Linked DNA regions of Homo sapiens: all the other regions are linked to region 1. Evidence: promoter capture Hi-C in 16 types of primary human blood cells and fetal thymus (Javierre and others, 2016). All regions are on one chromosome and are shown on one strand. The core of a region is centred on a gene start or on the middle of the fragment in contact, and the rest is flanking DNA. Distances in the headings are between cores, read along the strand shown.

What was found. Contacts are between HindIII fragments. The CHiCAGO score rates a contact against its expected background, and 5 or more counts as called.
Region 2: a fragment that was not itself captured here is called in contact with the fragment with the promoter of YTHDC1 in region 1 in 1 of 17 cell types (fetal thymus); the score reaches 5.3 in fetal thymus.
Region 3: a contact is called between a fragment that was not itself captured here and the fragment with the promoter of YTHDC1 in region 1, in 1 of 17 cell types (activated CD4 T cells). The highest score is 5.2, in activated CD4 T cells.

The regions. Positions count from the first base shown.
Region 1 is chr4:68,347,802-68,352,468 of GRCh38, forward strand. YTHDC1 (YTH N6-methyladenosine RNA binding protein C1) reads right to left here and starts at 2,289. Exons shown (of 17, transcript NM_001031732.4): 1 at 1,925-2,289. The coding sequence starts at 1,952. RefSeq lists an enhancer at 1,658-2,237. The HindIII fragment of the contact is 7,711 bases long and covers 1-4,667 here.
Region 2 is chr4:67,747,433-67,751,821 of GRCh38, forward strand. The region is part of intron 1 of GNRHR (gonadotropin releasing hormone receptor); the gene reads right to left. Among named protein-coding and RNA genes, the nearest start is that of GNRHR, 4.8 kb to the right of the region's middle. The HindIII fragment of the contact is 362 bases long and covers 1,594-1,955 here.
Region 3 is chr4:67,679,409-67,684,074 of GRCh38, forward strand. It overlaps UBA6 (ubiquitin like modifier activating enzyme 6), which reads right to left. Exons shown (of 33, transcript NM_018227.6): 3 at 2,711-2,805; 4 at 2,155-2,183. Among named protein-coding and RNA genes, the nearest start is that of UBA6, 19 kb to the right of the region's middle. The HindIII fragment of the contact is 2,898 bases long and covers 1,158-4,055 here.

The DNA.
Region 1 (4,667 bases), core at 1,039-3,538:
AAGCTAAGTGTGTGATGATGATCATCAAGTAAATGATACAACCTGTAGGTTACCTAGAACTCTCCCAAAACGAAATAAACAATTCCAGTAGGTAAGTGCTAGTTCTCCGTGTAGTCCAGAAACAATCTTTGTTCTAAACTATAAAGATAAAGCACTTACATCAAGTTTTTAAATAAAGTTATGAAAATTAAATAAAAAAAACTAAGCAAATGTGAGGCAAAGAACCTTTTCAAAAGTGGGGAAATGTATCCTATGTATAGACAACAGGTGATATCACTACTTCCCAGTAATAGCTACACAGTTTATGTATTTGGACTGCATTATCATCACTAAATCATTTCTAAAGCAAAACTTTTAAAATCATCTACTTTTCTTCTTCAATGTGCATTACTGCGTCTACTCTATTAACGACTTGTAAATATTTTCATCTTAGACAACGAATTCTTGAGAAGTACTGAATTTTACTCATTTTTGTGTTTGGTTCATTTCGCCCACCACAACCACTACAGACTCCCATATCCACAGTTCATAAATTAGAAAGACAATCAGATGTTTGCTGAATACTTACTAATTAAGATCATGTATTTTAATAACTGAGTTAACTAATTAAAAGCATTTTCCTTTACTCACTAACACCATACAATCCTATGTTCCCATTACTTCTGGATTTCTCAAAAAAAAAAAAAAAAAAGGCCCAGGGAGATTTTTTAGCATTTAGTTTAAGGATGGAACATTAAACTGCTATAACCTAATCAAAGAACTACTTTAGGATAAGGGCAGTATCTTAAAAGTATTCCCACCCATTCCACTTTCCCAGCTTGTCCCTAACCTAGGGCAGTTCATTGAAGCATGAAGACTCTCCTGATGCAGAAACCAGAAAAATTAAGAAAAAAGGATTACACGCCTAATGTAACTTGACTCTAGAGCCCACTTAACAACCCCCGACAAAAAAACCCCAAATCAATTAGGCACACAGAAGAGATGTGTGAGACACAGAGCAGCGACCGTGTCATATTTTTAACTATAATCTTTCCAAGACTATTATGTTAATCTTAGGGTTGAAAAAGATCTTAAAGCAGCATTTAATCTAGACCACTCTCCAGAGAGACACTGATCTAGGACCTACATTAATATCTCTAGGGCTTGGGAACTTAGTATTACTATCTTTCCATTACAGCAACGTCAGTTCTCTCTACATTTCACTGAAATTTATCCCTCCAACTCTCTGTAACTTGCATTCATTTGTTTCTGACTGTACCCTCTGGGAGCTACACACGGTTTTTCTAACATAATAGCACCCAGGATTTCTTTGCCAGCCTAAGTCACACAGTCATCTTTCCAAACTAAGTATTCCTTTTTCCAAGTACTATGTTTTTCCAAAATAAGTATTCGAGGAACAAAACGGGTAATTCACTTTGCCTATTTAACAGGAACAGCCAGAAGTTATTTGCAGATATTTCTCAAGATTAATAACCTGCCAGTGCCACTTCCTAAACTTGCTCACTTACCACACCACCAGTGTTGATCGCGGCATTAGGGGTTTTCAAATTTTAGCCTAACAGAAATGGTTGTCCTGAAAATACGCGTTACATCCGCATGATCCTACCAGGAAATAAACCTAGGAGCTTGCAACTCAGAAAGGGCCCCTCTCAGCCCAAGACAGCTAAACGGAAAGTCAAGCGTGAAATCCGCATCAAAGAAAAACCCTACTGAGATGAAGTGCTAGGCCATATGGAGACTGAGGACGAAAGGGCAGGCCTGGTCTCCGCCAGAGTCTAAGTGTCTCGGTGGGGGCCACCGGCTCCTCGCGAGGCCAGCTAACCTCCCCAACCCCCACCCCCCACCCCCAACGACGACCACTGCTCCATCACCCCACTCCCGGGCCCCAGCCTCGCCTCGGCCCGTCATCTTTCTCCGCACTAACCTTTCTCCTCCCGACTGTCAGCCGCCATGGCTCCCCTTCGGTTTCCGCCGCTGCCACCGCCGCCGCCGCTTAGACGCGACTCGCGCGGGCGCCGCAGCCGCGGCAGAAGCACGGGCCCGTCCGTCAGTCCGTCTGCCCGGATACGCGCGTCGCACTTGGCCTCTTAACACTCAGCCTTCTCGACTCTTCCCGCTTTTTCCCTTTCTCCCTTCCTTTCACTCCAGCATCCAGCGGCCTAGGCCCAGCCTTCTCGTTAGGGCTCAGACTCGGGCTAGGTATGGGGGAGGGAAGGGAAACAGATGGCGACGGCGGGCGGCGCTAAAATGGAGCCTGCTTCCTGCGCGAAACAATCCCGCTCCCGAAATGCCCTGCGCTGTTTACGCTTCGTTCCTCTCTGGGAACGTCACAGTGCGGAGAGGGGCGGGGAGGCGGGGACGTGCAAAGGAACGTGACGTGACGTCAGCGCGTCGCCCTGCCGCCCTCAGCCCACTGGTACCTGGAAGGAGTCTTATTCAGGGATTAGGTTACCCAGGTTGTTCATGGAGTTCCCGCTGTACGGCCTATAACTGGATGGCGCAATTTTCCCACCTGAAACTCTTAGTGCAGGGCCTAACAGGCCTTCTTAGCTAGAGTCGCTCTAAAGGACTCCTGATTCAGTTCGGGTAATCGGAGTCTTATTTAGGACAAGTCTGGGTGAATCCCTTATGTTTACCAGATGTACTTTCTTAGTTGGAGTTCCACTCTTACCCAAAGGCAGTGCAGCATGCAACCAGCTTGTTTGTAGTCACAAAAGCCTGCTAGTTTTTGTTTGTTTTGAGACGGAGTCTCGCTCTGTCGCTAGGTTGGAGTGCAGCAGCGCGATCTCGGCTCACCGCAACCTCCGCCTCCCAGGTTCAAGCGATTCTCCTGGCTCTGCCTCCTGAGTAGCTGGGACTACAGGCGCCCGCCACCACGCCCAGTTAATTTTTTTATTTTTAGTAGAGACGGGATTTCACCATGTTGGCCAGGATGAAGTGCTGGGATTACAGGCGTGAGCTACCACGCCCGGCCTAGTTTTGTTTTTAATTGGGGAAAGAATTGTATCATAATAGGTCTTTGTAATTAATAACTAATTTAAACATGTTATCAAGGCCCTGGGGCACAAAATTGATTTAAGCAGACCATCGAGGAATCGAAACTACAGAATAAATGACCAGTAGATACATAACTACATAGTGTGGTAAAATCTGCAAGAGAAACTTGCTTAAGATTCATTGTCCAACGGAAACAATCTAATTTTGCTTCCTTGAACTATAACTGAGTTATAAGGGAAAGAAAAATCTGAAAAAGGTAACTAAGTAACTTCGTGATATGAAGACAAACTGGCAAACTAACTGCATATTCAGGGAAAGACAAGTAGTCTAGAAGTCTAGAATGTGGTACCTCTTTTTTTTTGAGACGTGGTCTCACTGTGACACAGGCTGGAGTGCAGTGGTGTGATCATGGCTCACTGCAACCTTGGGCTCAAGTGATCCTCCCACCTTAACCTCCCAGGTAGCTGGAACTACAGGCATGCTCCACCACATCCGACACATTTTTTGCATTTTTTGTGGAGATATACCATCTCCGCAAGATGGCTAACACCTAGCCATCTTGCCCAGGCTAGTGTCTAAATCCTGGGCTCCAGCAATCCTCCCACCTCGGCCTCCCAAAGTGCGGGATTACAGGTGTGAAGCCACCAGGAGTGGCCCCATTTCTAGGACCTTAATTGAACACTAATTTGAATATACGAACACGCACACGCCACAAACACACACACACACACACATTAAATAATATCTGATGATCCTGAGGAATTGCTATTTGTATTTTTAGTTTTAATAAGTTTTGCTTTTTAAAGAATTTCTTATAATTTCATGATTCATATGAAAATATTTGCAGGCCAGATGCAGTGGCTCATACCTGTAATCCCAGCACTTCGGGAGGCCCAGGCGGGCGGATCACCTGTGGTCAGGAGTTTGAGACCAGCCTGACCAATATGGTGAAACCCCGTCTCTGCTAAAAATACAAAAATTAGCCAGGCATGATGGCATGCGCCTGTAGTCCCAGCTACTCGGGAGGCTAAGGCAGAATTGCTTGAACCCGGGAGGCGGAGGTTGCAGTGAGCTGAGATTGTGCCACTTTCACCCCAACCAGGACAACAGAGCTAGACTCTGTCTCAAAATAATAATAAGAATAGTAATAAATATTTGCAAATGAAATTATATGGTATCTGGGATTTATCAAACTGGTGGCAGGTGTAGCGAAATGGGTAGGAGAATAGATTAAACAAGTCTACCCATGAGTTAACAATTGTTGAAGCTGGGCGATACATATGTGAAAGGAAAATCTCCCCAACATCACTAAGCCAAAGGAAGAAGTCAAGCTGGTGATTGATGTCTCATGTATCCCTAAAATGTATAAAATGAAGCTGTGCACGACCACCTTGGGCACATGTCATCAGGACAGCTTGAGGCTGTCATGGGCTCTTTCTTAACCTTGGCAAAATAAACTTTCTAAATTGATTGAGACCTGCCTCAGATACCTTTTGATTTCCACATACATTAGTTAATATTATACTCTCTTCTCTACTTTTTTGCATATTTGAGTTTCCTTTAATAATTTTTTGTAAAGAAGAGCATAAGAAAACAGCCAAGTAATTTAGAAGATATCAAAATGCCATTTTCCCTGATTCTACATTTGTCCTATTAGAACTAAGGAGTAA
Region 2 (4,389 bases), core at 525-3,024, 600 kb before region 1:
AAAGCAGTGTGTTTTTTTTCTACGTTTGTCTGTATTTCTTACTCAGGCCTCTCAGGCATTACTTGGCCTTTCTGTTTTCACACCAACTTGGTGAGTTCTACTATAAGATTCTAAAAAGATGGGTAGTGCGTGGTTCAAATTGGTTCATTTGTAACTGGAAAAAATTTATAATTAAAAAAATAAAATATGTTTAAAAAAGCCATAATGATGAAACTTTCAATTAGCAATGACTTTGAAACATAGTACTATGATTGAGTTAATGGCTATCTTATTTAACACATGCTTATTTTTTAAGCAACTCTTTGGTAAAATAAACTATAGCTGGCATTCTCTGTCATAAAAGATAAAGCAGTTATATCCTTCAATCAGGGAATTTAATATTTGGTAGTGCAGATTTAAAATGTATGTGACCCAGGTAATACAAGATAGACCAATAAATTTTAAGAAAGGTATAATAAAGTGTACACAAATTCAGAATCTTACTTGCCCATAAATTAACTTGCTATTGTCTTAGTTCCGTTTATTTTGTGCTCCAAGGCCATGTTCATTTGAATGATTTATGTAGAGATCCACTTTGCTTTTAGTTGTTCATTTGTCCTTGGATTATATTTCTTTAATTTTGGTATATTTCTCCTCTCTTGCCCCTGGCCCTGGTTCTTATCAGTGTTTGCTTTATTTTGCCATAAACAAGAACATTCTGTTTTTGTTTTTCACAGTCAATTGCAGTTGTTCATTTCTTCTTAGAATATTATCTTTAACACTCACCTTACCCACACTAATTACACCCTTACCTAGTGTTGTCCACAGGTAATTATCTTCAGATGTGTGCTTCAGTTTCCTCATCTACATACATGGAGAAAATAGTAATATCTACCTCTAAGGCCTATCATGACAATAAATGAGTTAATACATGCAAAGCACCTGGAATAGTGCCTGGAACACAGCACTTTATAAATCTTTACCATTATTATAATTAAAACTTGAGGCACACAATTTTTATATGTATCCATATGCGTTTATATGTTTATAAATGTGTATCATATATATTTTTTTCTTGATGTGTTTTAAGCATCAGTTTTCACTTCAAGCTTTTTCTGCCTTTTTCTTCCCCAGCCTCCTACAGGTAAAAAGGAAATAGACAATATTGCAGTGTTCACTGGGCAGAGTTGGGTAGAGTGTAGTAGTTAAAAGAGCTGGCTGCACCCATTAACTCGCATGGCACATGTATACATATGTAACAAACCTGCACGTTGTGCACGTGTACCCTAAAACTTAAAGTATAATAATAATAATAAAATAAATAAATAAATAAATAAATGGGAAGCCTCTGACTGTTAAAAAAAAAAGAGCTGGCTATGGATATGGCCATATATAGATAACTAAATATACTGATATACTGAGATTTCCACTTAGTAAACAGTAATTTTGGGCATGTTATATAATATTGGAGGTTTAGTTTCTTCATGTGTAAAATAAAGATAATGATTGTGCATAATTTATGTGATTGTTGGAAGCATTATATGAAATATTGCATGTAAAAGCTTATTTATTTAATATTTATTCACTGCCTGTTCTGTGAACCTAGCATGTAAAAGCTTTTAGCCAAATTCCTGGCACATATTTATGTCTTCAAGCATTATTTATCATCATCAACATTATTGCTATTGTTATTTCTGCTAGTAGCACAGTACTATGTTGTAGCACAATGTTAGGCATATTGTACCTGTGTGATAATATTTATTGAATTTAAACCGTTGGCCAATGTCAGTAGTGCATTCTACACCAGTAAATTCTCTGTGTGTTAAGGCAAGCCTCCACACATCTTCAGACAACATATCTTTACACTAAGGACTAAGGAGTGGCCCACATTTCTTGCCGGCAGGCCTGGGTTAACCATAGAATTTAAAAGCTGTCAATATGTAATACTCTGTATTAGTACAGATAAACTAGTGATAAGCTTAACACAGATAAGCTATGAACTCTTTCTGCAAATAACCTGCTACTCTGGAATTCTTGTGGTATTAAATGACTCTTATTAGAAACCATGTGATTTTAAATTAGATACGGGCACATCTAATTTAGGAAATGTCTTCTCTTCAATTTATATTTACCACCCTAACCACAGATGGTCTTAAACCAAAGCTATCCCAGGGTGTTTGCTGCTTTTTCTTTTCCTCCTTCCCTCCTTCGTTTTTCTTTTCTACCTTTCCTCCTTTTTCCTCCCCTTCCCTCCTTTCCCTCCCTCCCTGCCTCCTTTCCTTCGTTCCTTCCTTCTTTCCTTCCTTCCTTCCTTCCGTCTTTCCCCACTTTTATATACGATACCTCCAAGACTTGAATTACTGTGCTCTGACATGTATAATTAGCAGAGTGAGTATGATAGCTTTGTGACCAGGGAGTAGTTTACTAATCAGTCAGAATGCATGCTATAATTTTGAAAAATTTGAAATAATCCACTTTTATATAAGCATTTCTTTTTGCTGTTTCTTAAAGAACCAACAATTCCATACTCATATTTCTGTACTTTTTCTTTCCTGACTTCAAAACCTCTTTTATGAAGGTAAGAAGAAAGGATGGTCTTAGGAAGAAAGGAAAAGAAGAAAAATAAATATTAAATTAGTATTTAAAATTAAGGTGTAAAGTCTTAGATGATTTTATAAATTGTATGACTTATTCTTTACAATTACTCTTTTAAATGTAAGTAATTTGCTCAGAGTCACATAGCTGGTAGGCAGTATTACTGAGATTTGAGCCCAACTCCATTTGAATCTCACACTCATGCCACTTTTACTATCCCATTGGCTTTTGAACTTTGCTGCAAGGAGATAGGAAGTCTTTAGTAACTGTGACTGAGAGCTAGTGAATAACCAAGTGGAGGACTGGTCCTCCTTTCCCTCTATTTTAACCAGAGCAGCTCCACTTATATCTGTTTCATTCATTATGGCTTTTTGTACAGGATTTTTTGTACTGTATTTTATTTAAAAATTTTTAACAGACACATAATAATTGTACATATTTATGGGGTACATTGTGATATAGAATTTTTTAAAAAGAATTCTATTACTAGCATAAAGTTTGAAAGTTTCTATGCCACACTATGCTAAAACTTCTGAGAATGCACTGCCGAATTATCACAGAACATAGCTTCTGAGGTTAATAATGAGGAAAGTGGAAAATCTAGGAGGCCAATTTGAAATTTGGTCATTCTGAGCTGAGGCAAAATGTCATAAATTCCCAGATCCCCAGCCCTGAGTGGTGAAAACATGTTTGTTAAGTGTTTTTTTTTCAACTGAGGTATGAATTACTCAAATAATAGAAAATCGGTATGTGCACCAAAGGATGAAAATTAAAGTTACCCTTTTAATGTAAATTAGGCACAATAGGACGTGCCTTTGTCAATTACATTTTTTATAATTGACCACAGAGCATGGTGAAGCATGAGACACACTCATCATGCATCACAGTCTAGAAATAAAAAGCCCTCTTTCTCTCTCATGTTCCTCATCAAATATATGTAACATTAGTTATGGGATTGAAATTTCTTTTATTCAGAGAAATTGAAGAGAGCCATAATAAAAGGAAAGAATAAGACAACACGAGTCCAACAGAGCACGTGACACTGGGAATGCTAATGAATCCTTTTAAATCAGTGCTTTTTGAACTGCAGGATATGCTCAGCAATGAGTTGTAATCAACAGTAAAAAATAAAATGTAACAGAATAGAATATTTATTTCATCAAAATTTTTTCTCAGTTATATGTGTGAGAGAAAGAGACAGAGACACAAACAAGGTTTCAGTGTAGTGTGTATTTCTTACTTTGGATTATTGCAAAAGGATTTGAATGCCATTGTCTTCATAGGTTTAGACCTTAGCTCTCTTATATATGAAATAGGGATAATAACACAGCTCCTATTTACCTTATAGAGTTAACGTAAATATCAGCATTACTTATGTGAGGTTATTCAGGAAACTTCAGCAAAGTGCTTTAAAGTGTTGTTGAAAGTAAGGATGAGTCATGTGTTTTACAAAATAAAATAACACCATTTTCTGTGGCTCACATTCACATAAATCTCTCTAGTAATGTATTTGAGGTCAGACTATTACATGAAATTCCTAAACAATTCAAAGTTAAGTTCCTATTTTCTTTTTGCTACATCAAGTTAGATAAATATTTGGCATTATCTTTCTATTATTGCTGTTAATACTTAGATGAAAATAATTGGATTGATAAAGCAATATTTTATTTATAGCTTCTAGGAGACTTCTTCTAAGAAGAATCAAATCGTGAGTTTGCCCTTCAGTTATTATTGCAGATAGGATTATTTCTACTTTGGTTTGGATTTTAATCTACATCAGCACCTCAAATTACCAACTACTTTACACATAGTTGT
Region 3 (4,666 bases), core at 1,357-3,856, 670 kb before region 1:
TTAAAAAGCAATCTCTAAAAATCCAAAGCAAAACAAATACATGGACTAAACTGTTTATGGAGTCTGCTACACACAGAGATTTATTTAAAGTGACTTTTAAAAGCAGTTAATTTGCCTGCCAAATCCAGGTAGGATCAAAAAACTCTAAATTTTTTTCAATAATACATTATTATTAACAATATTGGAATTGGTATTCTGAAACTATGCCATACAAGTAAAATATAATAGGATAAAGAATATATAGCATATATAGGATAAAGCACGTAATGGATCATTAGAAACCAAAATCCTAATAAGATACAAATATAAAATCACAGAAATAAATATCCTATAATCCAAAGTAAAAATTAGAAATTTTAGTAATACTTTATAAGCCTAAACCTGAAAATCAGAAATTTCAGTATTTACTCATTACGAACGTTCTAGCTCTGCCCACTGAAAAGACTTTGTAAACAGCGACAAAGACTACTGGGGGCTGTGTCTCAAAGCCTCAAAAAACAGGAAGAGAACCACAATAACCAAAGATGGAACAATCTGAGCATCAATGAAAATAACTATAATAGATCAAAACACATCAAATTATGTTTAAATCCATGAGTTTATCATAATGTACACATACATATAAATTCACTGGTCAATACTACGAAATGATGACAGGAAACCACTGATTTTGAAAACTGGTAAGTTAATGGGGAAAAATGTAGTATTTATCCTGCATTTTGTAAATGTACAATCCATACTTTCGTGAAACCAAGAAAGTCATGACTGGAATTTTTTTCTAAAATATAATTCCAGCTAATAAATGAGAAAAGAATGATAAAACATCATCACTGCCCCTAATGAAATAATGAATCTAGGCAATAATAATTAACAGCTAATAATAATCACAAAAAGAGAGACAACAGAATATTACTGTCTCCTGATGGGAGAACAGCTATGAAACAGTCTTGCCAAAAAGAATCAAATCTGAACTGGATTCTCTGGCTATAACTACCAGTTTACAGGAAATACACATGTAGAAATACCTGTGACAAATGACTAGTTTCTTCAACAAATAAATTGCAAGAAAAAACCTAGGCAAGGAAGGGAAATCTATAGATTAAAATAAACCAAGTTCAGTATACGAATTTTACTTGGATCCTGATTAGAATGATACAAGCTTTCAATAAAATGTCTTAAGACATTTGGGAAAATTTGAACTCTAACTAGACATTTGATGACTGTGGTAGACAGGCTTTTAAGATGGCCACAATGTTTCCTGCTTCATAGTATTTAGGCTTTCGTGTGATCTCCCACCTTGAGTGTGGCCTGGACCCACTTCTGAGATTAGGTTACAAAAGACTGACTTGTCTTGTTAACACACTCTCTTCTCCTGTCTTACTTGTTTACTCTGATGAAGCAAACTGCCACACTGTGAACTGCCCTATGGAGAAAGCCATACAAGCAAGGAATTGAGGGTGACCTTTGGTCAAGAGCCAGCAGGAACTGAGGTCCTCAGTTTAACAATACATGAAGAACTAAATCCTACCAAGAACCACATGAGCCAGCTTGGGAAGCAGATCCTTCCCCAGTCTAGCCTCAAGATGACTGCAGGCCCTGCTAATACCTTGACTGCAGCCTTGTAAGAGACTCCCAGAGAAACCCCAACCAGAGTCATGCCCGAATCCTGACTCACAGAAACTATGAGACAACAAATGTTGCTTAAGCTACAAATTTTGGGGTAAACTGTTTTATAGCAACATGTAAACTAATACAATGGTATTAAGAGCTTGTTACATTTTAGGTGTGAAAATTATATTGCTGCTTCAAAAGATATTCTTATCTTTTAAAGATACTACTAAAATATTTAAGGATGATATAATACAATGTCTGAAATTTACATCAAAATAATTTGGCAGTTGGGGGCAATAAGGAATGGGAAGAAGATATATGAAACAAATGTCCCCAAGAGTTGGTAACTGATGCTTTCTGATGGGTATGTGGGGTTTTGTTACACAATTCTTTCTTTGTATATTTTTTAAATTTCCATGATTTTTTTTAAAAAGTAGAGCATTAAAGACAATAATTAAAACAAAGTATAAACAATATTACCATAACAAATGAGCCAAAAAAAAAGGCTCATAACAATTTTTCTTACAGAGGACATTTACTTACCTTAATCCCTGCAAGAACAAGATTCTTTGCTAGAAAGGCAAAAGAAAAAGGAATAGCTCAATATTGGGAATACACACTAGATATGTCTTCACAGAGCTTAGTCACATATCTGACTGCATACTTTTAACTTCTTTTTTTACTACTTAATACAAGTTCCTTGTCTTAAAAAAGTTACAAAATACAGGTTAAAAGTGAAAAAATTAAAATGTGCATAATCACAACACCCAGAGATAATCACTCCTAAAATTTCAACGTATTCTTCCAGATATGTTTTTATGAATACAGTATATGTATGTGTGCTTATAATGAATTAATGGATATAGAGAATGATAATTAATGGCTATTAACATCACAAAAAGAAGCAATGAGTCATTATTGGTTCTTTGTGGAAGAATATAACATCACGAAATAGTCTTGACAAAGATTAAAAACTCAATCTGATCAACATTTTGGATCTAACTTCCTTTATAGGAAATATAAGGGGATGAAGTTAAGTTATTTAAACTATCTTCATTGCTCAAAAGTGTCAAAAATTAGGAATATAAATATTGCTTACCAATTTCCAAACCAAGACCACCCATCCCACTTAAGAAAACATGGGACTTGGCCATCTTCTGCATTGCTGTGTCTCCAAGAACGTACCTCTGTCGACTACACGGAAAACACAATAAAAAACAAAAAATTATTTCACTGAAATTATAATATCTCTTAAAGTTGTTTGCAAACTAAAAGCCTAGGAACTCAATCCGGCCCACAGACTTGTTATGAATGATTTGCACAGTGTTTAAACATTTCTGAATTAAATGCCAAATATATGACATATTTTGAAAAATCAGATAATTTGGCACCACAATCCATATTCCCTCAAGGCAATAGACAGATGGAGGTGAGTAAGAGTTGCCCTGTTTAGGCAGGAGGATTATGTGCTCCAGATTTGCCACAATCAATTCCTTCCTGTTCCTCTCATTTATTACCTCAGTGGCCACTATAAGCATTTGAGTTTGCCATTTCCACCTTAAAACTTTCACTATCAACAGGATTTCTGAGGCAACAACAACAAAAAAAATTTGGTTCTCTTCTTGGAGTTCAGATGTTATATAAAGGACCTTGTTAAGTTATGCATCCTAATAGCCACAAGGTAGTAACAGGATGGGAATTTCAAAAAATATACGTTAGTAATTTAAAAGTCTGATATAGTAATAAAGTCAATTGTAAGTGTTTATCTGAAAGAACAATGAGAAACTTGATGCTATCTTTGGAGATAATATAAATTCCAATGAATTCTTATGAGAAACATTTTAAAGATTAGTTCGATATAAATAAATAATTTCAGAACCCCTTGGGTTATAAGTATTTACTTTCAGAATTAACACATACATGTTTAATGCACATTTGTTTTAAAAATAAATATTTAATTTCCATTATTTCAGCTTTTCATATTCAACATAAAAGCCTGAAAAGGGATTTCTTATCTAGAGAGACAAAACTTTATAAACACAAGCTATCTTTATTTCCTTCCCTGTTTCATACAAAATATAATAAAACCTAAACTTTTCTTTTTAAATTGGTACTCAAGACTTTTGTTTTAGAAAGTAAAAACTATCCATTTACACATCAAATATTTATTGAAAATCTACTATAGTATGTACGAAAGTTCTTATATAGTCTTACCACCCTTATGCGTACCCAGAAATAATATACTTAGGTTTTACCTGATTTTAGACTTTGTATAGATGGAATCACTTTGAGTGTCTTTTATCTTGTTTCTTTTGAATGAAATTATTTATGAGATGGACTTATACTGATGTCTGCAACTGGTCATTAATATTCATTTATATTGTATTCTGACCATTCTTATAAACATCTCCTGGTACACACTTAAGAGTTGTTTCTCTGATACAAGCTTGTCCAACCCACGGTCCACAGGCTGCATGCGGCCCAGGACAGCTTTGAATGCGGCCCAATACAAATTCGTAAACTTTCTTAAAACATTATGAGATTTTTTTGCAATTTTTTTTTTTTTTTAGTTCATCAGCTATCATTACTGTTAGTGGATTCTATGTGTGGTCCAAGACAATTATTCTTCTTCCAATGTGGCCCAGGGAAGCAAAAAGATTGGACACCCCTGCTCTAATGTATATCCCCAGAGAGGAAATGCAGGATTTAAGAATATGTATACTTCAACTTCATTAGACAGTGCCAAACTGTTTTCCAAAATGGACGTACCAGGACAGTTGTGGTGGCTCACGCCTATAATCCCAGCACTTTGGGAGGCCTACATGGGTGGATTACTTGAGCTCAGGAGTTCAAGACCAGCCTGGGCAACACAGCAAAACCCCATCTCTATAAAAACTACAAAAATTAGCAGGATGAGGTGGTGGGTGCCTGCAGTTAAGTCCCAGCTACTCGGATGGCTGAGGCAGGAGAATTGCTTGAGCCAGGAGGTGGAGGTTGCAGTGAGCCAAGATCATGCCACTGCACTCCAGCTTGGGCGACGGGAATGAAATCCTGT